Linked DNA regions of Homo sapiens: region 1 is linked to region 2. The links are contacts of gene promoters, found by promoter capture Hi-C in blood cells and fetal thymus (Javierre and others, 2016). All regions are on one chromosome and are shown on one strand. The core of a region is centred on a gene start or on the middle of the fragment in contact, and the rest is flanking DNA. Distances in the headings are between cores, read along the strand shown. Region 1 overlaps PDE4D (phosphodiesterase 4D). Region 2 holds the start of PDE4D-AS1 (PDE4D antisense RNA 1).

Evidence for each region. The method cuts DNA at HindIII sites, captures the fragments that hold promoters and counts their contacts. A CHiCAGO score of 5 or more calls a contact.
Region 1: a contact is called between a fragment that was not itself captured here and the fragment with the promoter of PDE4D-AS1 in region 2, in 2 of 17 cell types (fetal thymus and naive CD4 T cells). The highest score is 7.3, in fetal thymus.

Annotation. Positions count from the first base shown.
Region 1 is chr5:59,335,379-59,338,811 of GRCh38, forward strand. All of the region lies in intron 1 of PDE4D (phosphodiesterase 4D), which reads right to left. Among named protein-coding and RNA genes, the nearest start is that of PDE4D-AS1, 300 kb to the left of the region's middle. The HindIII fragment of the contact is 1,048 bases long and covers 797-1,844 here.
Region 2 is chr5:59,038,017-59,041,633 of GRCh38, forward strand. It overlaps PDE4D-AS1 (PDE4D antisense RNA 1), which reads left to right and starts at 1,750. Exons shown (of 2, transcript NR_198970.1): 1 at 1,750-2,054. It overlaps PDE4D (phosphodiesterase 4D), which reads right to left. Exons shown (of 15, transcript NM_001104631.2): 6 at 843-955. RefSeq lists a silencer at 1,119-1,188. The HindIII fragment of the contact is 4,461 bases long and covers 1-3,125 here.

The DNA.
Region 1 (3,433 bases), core at 71-2,570, 300 kb after region 2:
ATAACTCAGGAAAAGGGAGGATGGCAAAGAACTGCATCTATTTCACAGTCTTGCTCAGGGTCATGGCTGTGGTTATCAATCTTTGCCTCTAAAAATACATAGTTTTTGCCCCTATGGGTGGTCACTGCTTAGTCACTGCAATGGATTTGAACTACACAACCTACATTTATCACTTTTACCCATTTAAGACCAACTTAAAGGCAAAAAGAAGTAAAAGAATGATGAAGACTTTTTTTTTAAGATTCTGCAGTACCTTCATAAGTGTCTCCCTCTCAGGGATGAAGTAAGAATTGCTCCTTTAAAAAGTGTCTTTCTGTGAAAGGACCGGAAAATTCCTAAAGATAGAAACTAAAAAGCTAGATGGCAGCAGACTGCCTTTCATGTCCCTATCAATGAATAGATTGCTAACTAACAATCAGGGGCATTGTTCATATCAATAATATAAATAGTTCAAAAGACTCCAGAAATAAGTTCCTAAGGCACTCCCAGCCATTTGGAATAACTATGGCTTGGAAATTTTCCCATCTTTGTAATTTTGCAAAAAATGATCTAGACTAGAGGTCTATAACTATATTCAGATGATTCCTATTCATAAACTGAGAATAAAGAACAGACCAACTTCAGTAACAGTGACATTGCTGGGAGAATAAATTGGCTCAAGAAGTAACAACAGCAGCAAAACGGTTAAGGCACTTCAAGGTAATCAATTTAGCTCTATCGCTTTTTGCTGTGACTCTGAAGGAAGTTAATTGAATCTCTGAAAGTAGTATCTTGCTGCCTGGAATTGGTACCCACAAGCTTCAAATAAACTATTCCATGAAGTTTAAGCTGTCCTTGACAGAAAGAAGGGCACAATCAGCTCCAAGCCATTAGGGAAGGTATAATTTCACAAGGCAAGACAGCCAAGGAAAGTGATCCTCAAAGGGAAACTTTCGTAGAAAAAATTTTGTACTTTCCTGTCCCCATCCATCAGTAACCTCAACAGAGCTATTTTTGGATTGTTTCCCTTTATTCCTATTGATGACTATTATTATATTTTTGAAAATGTTTTTGTTAATGTTGTTAGAAACTGGTAGGTTAATGAAACTTTAGCCATGGTTGTTGTTGTTAGAAGCAGGTGTAATTAATAAAAGTTTAGCTGTGAAGGCCAGGCATCTCAGGGTTCAAACTTTAGCTTATTGACTACTTTTTAAGCTATGCAACCCTTAGCAAACTGCTTACTCACATGACCTCTGTTCTCACAGCTGCTAACAGAAGTGGTGGCAGTGATAATAATGTTGAGAATTGTTTTGAGGTATAACCAAATTACCATGGAAAATGCCTAGCAAAAGTCCAGGCTTATAGTATGAGCTAATTAATATATCAAAATCTCATTCCTTTCTTTTTTTGGCTTTCCTTTCTTCTACGGCCTTCTCCATCTTCCAAGACCCAGCCTTAGTAGCAGATGATGACTTGGGTCTCCTGCCTACCAAGAAGCCCAGTGCGCTGGCTTCCTGACACAAGACATAGCCCTGTTAGGGAGTCAGGAATCTATTTACTCAATGTTCAGTTCATATTAGAATGCAAATGCTCTTGCAAATAAAAAACATTAACTCATGTCTAATTGCTTATCTACACTTTCAGCACTTCTTCATTTTTTTAAAATTTTACTGTGAGCAGGCTCTAAAAAGAGAATATAGCAAGAACAAAGGTTTTGGCTTTGATGAGGAAAAGTGTGTGGAGAGAACACAAAAAGAGGAGAAGGATGAAGGAAGAAGACAGGAAGGTCTCAAAACCTGAGCTCCTGCAGCAGTCACTCCACTGAACTAGCCCATTCTGAGCTTGTCCAGTTCTTTTGTAAACCAAGCTTGCATGCTTCTTAAATTGTCAATGGTTAGCTTTTCATGGTTCTTAAAAAACTTAAATTTTTAATGATGCTGGTATAAGTGAAAGGCATTCATAAGTTCCCCCCCCCCCACCTTTTTTTTTTTTTTGACACGGAGTCTCGCTGTCGCCCAGGCTGGAGGGCAGTGGTGTGATCTCGGCTCACTGCAGGCTCCGTCCCCCGGGGTTCACGCCATTCTCCTGCGTCAGCCTAAGTTCCCCTTTTTAATAATGAAGGTCATAAATAGGAGCAGTCAACAGCTAACATTTTTGCAGTATTTACCATGCAGTAGACACTGTGCTGGGCACTGTACATGATTATCTCACTTAATCCCCACAAAGCCTTATGAGCTATTATTATTATTTCAATTTACAGATAAGGACACTAAACAGAGAGAGAATATACAGCTACCAAGTGGCAGAATCAGCTAATAGGCCATGTGTTGATATGTTCTGATTGCAGAGTTTGATGCCTCTCCTGGGTGAACTCAATAGGACCAGAACACAGTTCTACTAGAACATCTGGTATGATTTCACAATGTCACGTTGTTTTTGCCTTTGAAGTGAATTGGGGTATTCTGAATGGGCATGGGGACATTTTAAGAGGTCATGGGGCACGAGATTAAACCTACAAATGTCATGGGAGCCTCTCCATCTTGTGAACCCTCTTACTAACCACCTTCATTCCCATTTAGGCTTTTACAAAACACATGACTGTAAACTGATTTTCTTTGGTAGAAGAGAGGAATGTTGTGGAGAAAACACTTGAAAAAGTTCATAGGTTAAAAAAACACAAGAACTACTTGTTTCATACATGGTTTTATGTAAATGTCAAAGATAACCTCTCAAATATTCTTTAAGTTTCCACTAATATGTGATATCCCAAAAATGTTGCCTCCCGTGATAATATCTTGCATTCTTCTGTTATTCCATGAAGCATATCTTACTTGGTTCTCACAGCCAACAATCAACTGAGGTAATAAGGAAAGATAACCATAGCCCTGCTTTATAGAGGCAAAAGTGGGATCTCATGCTATATGGCACAGCAGAAACAGAATCTCAAACTAGTATTTAGGCCCCTAGTCCCAGCCAATAACAAGTTTCATTAGCGCAAAAGTTCTTTACCTACACACAGTCTATGGCTTTCTTGGTGAAAATAGTATTCTTGGTGAACTGAATTTTGCACAGGAAACAATGGACTCAGCATCTCATATTCTTGTTTAGTGTATCTTAGGAATCATGTGCATGTCCAGTCTAAAGCAGCAGGTTGTCTAAAGAGTGTTCGGCTAGGCAGTGCCGAAAGACTGCACGTCATTAGCTTTTGAAAGTCATTACCATTAAGTCCATGTCCCTAAATTGTTTCTTTCTGTGAGGAAGGCAGAGGATCATATTTGAATCCAAGATCATCGAAGTATGGTAGACATGAAAGGCGTGTGGTTAGGGCACTAGCAGAACTCAAGAGCAAGTATGCACTTTCCAAGTTCCCAGGGGGCAGGCTGATGGCAGAAATGTCTAATTTGAACAAAACTGCTAAATAACTTGCTTTTTTACTTAAATTCCTACAAAAATT
Region 2 (3,617 bases), core at 500-2,999:
TACGACATGCACAGGCAAATAGCCACTAAAAACATACACAATTCCAATTATCTCCTTGCATAACTAAAGACAAAAAGAACAGGAAATCCAAAAAATACAGCAAAACTGAAAACACTATACCTTGCCTTCCGTGCTATTTTAAGGCTGTCCCAGGCTGAAGGTTACTTCTCAGCCCTCAAAACTCCATTAACTGCCAAGACCAGCACCTTAGCACATATGGCACAGATGCCTAGTTGAAGCCTCCTTGTACTAAATGACCTCAAAAAACTGGGCTTTCTTTCCAAGATTAATGGAAACAAAAGTAATGATCATAAGGAACCTTCTAACTCTGTTAATGTTTCCTGCGGATATGTATGGCCAACTGAATATATAAAGGCTCAGTTCTTGCGGGGTACCCTGACAACTAGATGAATTAGGGTGAAGGTTCCAAGTTCGATGAACTCTTCTGAGTTTGAGTGCCCTAGGTGGTGACATTCAAGTGATTTCACAGACATCCACCAATTCTTATTTTCAACCGGGAATCCCAAGAACACCTTTAAACATGCAATGCCCATGGACCCTACTGGGTTTCTGCTGCAAGGGCTCAGTGTTACTTAGGAACCCTGTGTCTTGGGAGATACTTAAATTTAGCACGTCAAATTGCTTTTGGAAAATGTTTATCTGGCGTGACTAGGGGAGGCAAAGCAAGGAAACAGGAACCTCCCTCTAAGGAGCAGAATAGCCAACATGCAGTAAGCCTAAAAAACCTCTCAATTTATTTCCCGGGGCTATGGGTACCAGTGGCTCGCCGGCATGGGAATCAGCAGCCTGGGGGCACCAGTGACAGCAGAACCGGGGCTTACCTTGTTGGAGGCCATCTCACTGACGGAGTGCCTGGTCTGTAGGGTCTCTAGCTGGTCCAGACACCAGTCCAGCTCCTCCAGGGTCTCGCTGGCCAGTTTCTGGTAGGCCTCCTCTGCGAAGAGACAGGGAAAGGGGGACTCAGTTCTCAAGCGCTTCACGGGTCCGCTAGCGAGTTCAAAGGGGGCCATCCTGCCATACCCCGCCATGCTCGGATGCCCGGTGCCGGCACATGAGGGCTGCTCCTTCATATTGCCCAGCCCGGCAGTGCAACGGGGGCGGAGGCTGTGCTCGCGGGGCGGCCGGCCTCGGGGAGGCACGGTCTCTCCAGCTTGGCGTCTCGGGTCGGCCTCCAGGGAGGGCGTGCAAAGAGCGGCGAGCCAACTTTCACACAGCGACGCGAGCGGAAAAACCACTATGCGACTTTTCAACTGTGCGGCGGGCCCGAGTCCCAGTCCAGGAGCCCGGCTCTAGCGGATGGCGAGGGGGTGGCGAGCGCGCTTGGGTGCCCGCCCCGCAGAGGAGCGTCTGGTCCACAGCCGGATCTCCTCGGTCCCCAACCCGGAGCCGCGGCCCCACGCCCGCCCCGCCTGCCGAGCCTTCTGCACGGCACTTGAAGTGAATGAATCAGCCGCGGCCGGGTGCGCGGCCACCACGTTTCCTGTTTTCTTTCTCAACTCCTCGGGCGGCAGGCGCAGCGCGGCTCCAACGCCGCAGCTTTCCGGGAACACTCCCCCTCACGCCCCTCTCGGCCCTCGGCGCTGCCTGGCTCCTCCTCAACCCCCTTACGAAAAGATTCCGAATTGCAAAAGCCTGTCCCTGTCCGTGCCACCCGCCGCGTCCTTCCCCTCGAGCTCTGCCCCGGGGGCCCCGCCACCTCGCAGTGCCATCCCCCCGGCGCAGCCGGGCGCCACTCGCTTTGAAGTGCAGACGAGGAGGCGCGGGCGCGAGCGTGTGTGTCTGTGGGGCTGCTGTGGGACTGTCTGTGCTAGGAGAGCGGCGGAAAACCCGGCGTGGAGCGCCTGCAGTCCGCCGTCCGGGGTCGCGCCCGCCGCGGGGCTCAGGAGGGACCGGCACGCAGGCGCGCACGGCCGCGCACCTGTCTCGCTAGAACCCCGCGCGCCCCGCCGAGCCACTGCCCTCCAGGTTGCCCAGACCGCTGGAGCCTCTGCGACTCCACGACCGGCTGCTTCCTGCGAAGTTTCACAAACAAGGTTATTTAGGACCCTCAAGGTTTCTGAGGGTTTAAGTTTTAGGGTTTCTGGGGGTTCGTTTCTAAAGGCTTAGGATTCACCTACTTCAAGGAGGCAGGGTTGTGGGAATTAAGACCGCATTCTTTTTCTACCCAGCCCAGTCCCTACTAAGTACCAGACTTCTAAATGTTGGGGCGGACAGAAACAAGCAAACAAAATATACAATGTTGTGGGGTCGGAACGCTTTATAATTCACAAATTTGACAATAGGCTGCATTTTCATATGCCGAATTGCCTAAGAGTTCTCTTAAAGGAACAGCAATGTGAAAGAACCACATGGTAAGGAGAATTTACGCATGTCCTGCATACTACTCCTTTCCCCTGTGAATTGCATAAGACCTAGATGATCTTGGGCCAAGGAAGAAAATCTGGAAGGGTGTTTCTACCCACCATGTGCAGAGTACACTACAATTTTGAGAAAACGGAAAGACCATATTCAAAGGCATACAGAAAAGCCTGTTCTGTTTACAAAGGCTGACCCAGGGCACCAGGGACACTGTCCCTAAGCAGATCAGTTGTGGGAGAACTTTTCTACATTAGCATGCAATAAGCAAACCATTCATAGTGAGGAGAAGTCAAACTCCCAAGGGTCCATTTGATAAAACTTTGTCATTGTCGAGTGGAAAGAAGATACTGAGAAACTTACACTAAGTGGTGGGATCCCTTGTCTTTGTCTTTGAATCTACAGGTATTGGAGAAGAAATTCTGCCCTTGAAATTTAGACTCCATAAATTAACATGGCACAACAAATAAAGTTCATGGACTGAATTTAGGCTCCTGGGATTTTTGAGATAGCTTTTTATGTGAACTTTGTAAAAGTTAGAGTAACTTTTAAAGTAGTTGTTACATGTGCCACGTGGCTTATTGTTATCAAGAATACTTGAACTATTTACTGTTCACTTTGAGTACTCTAGGTTAAAATTTGCCTCTTTTTTGTTCTACTTCCTCCACCCCGCAGTCTATGTAAATATATACTTTAGATGGACAAACAACTGCCTAAACCTTGCCAGGTGAATTAAAGTTTCAGATTGAAGCTTTTTTTTCCCCCTTAACAAGCTTAAAGATATTAATAATTTTAAATGGTAAATATAAAATACCTGCTCTGTATAGCTTCCCCAATTCTAAGAATGTAAAAAATATTACATGCTTGTTATAAAAATTGAAGCATTACACACAAATATAGGAAGTCCATTGTAACCCCACACCCTAAAGATCACAAACAATACTTTCGCCTATGGCTCTAACACAATCATTTTCATTTTACTGAATAACTTCCATATGCAAGTATAGCATCACCTAGTTGCCATGGTAGTGCATCTACTATATGGTTTGGTTTTGATATTTTCCTCTCTCTCTCATTCCCATAATATAGGAATGTAGGAAATTTTAAGAGGACATTGACTTGTTTTATGATCATTTGAGCTGTCCATAGTTAGCCTATCCAGTGGATTAAAGATGCATAACCATTGTGTCTGGGATTTGTTCAGTGCCATCTTTTCAATCATTGGTTACAATGAAGCTGGG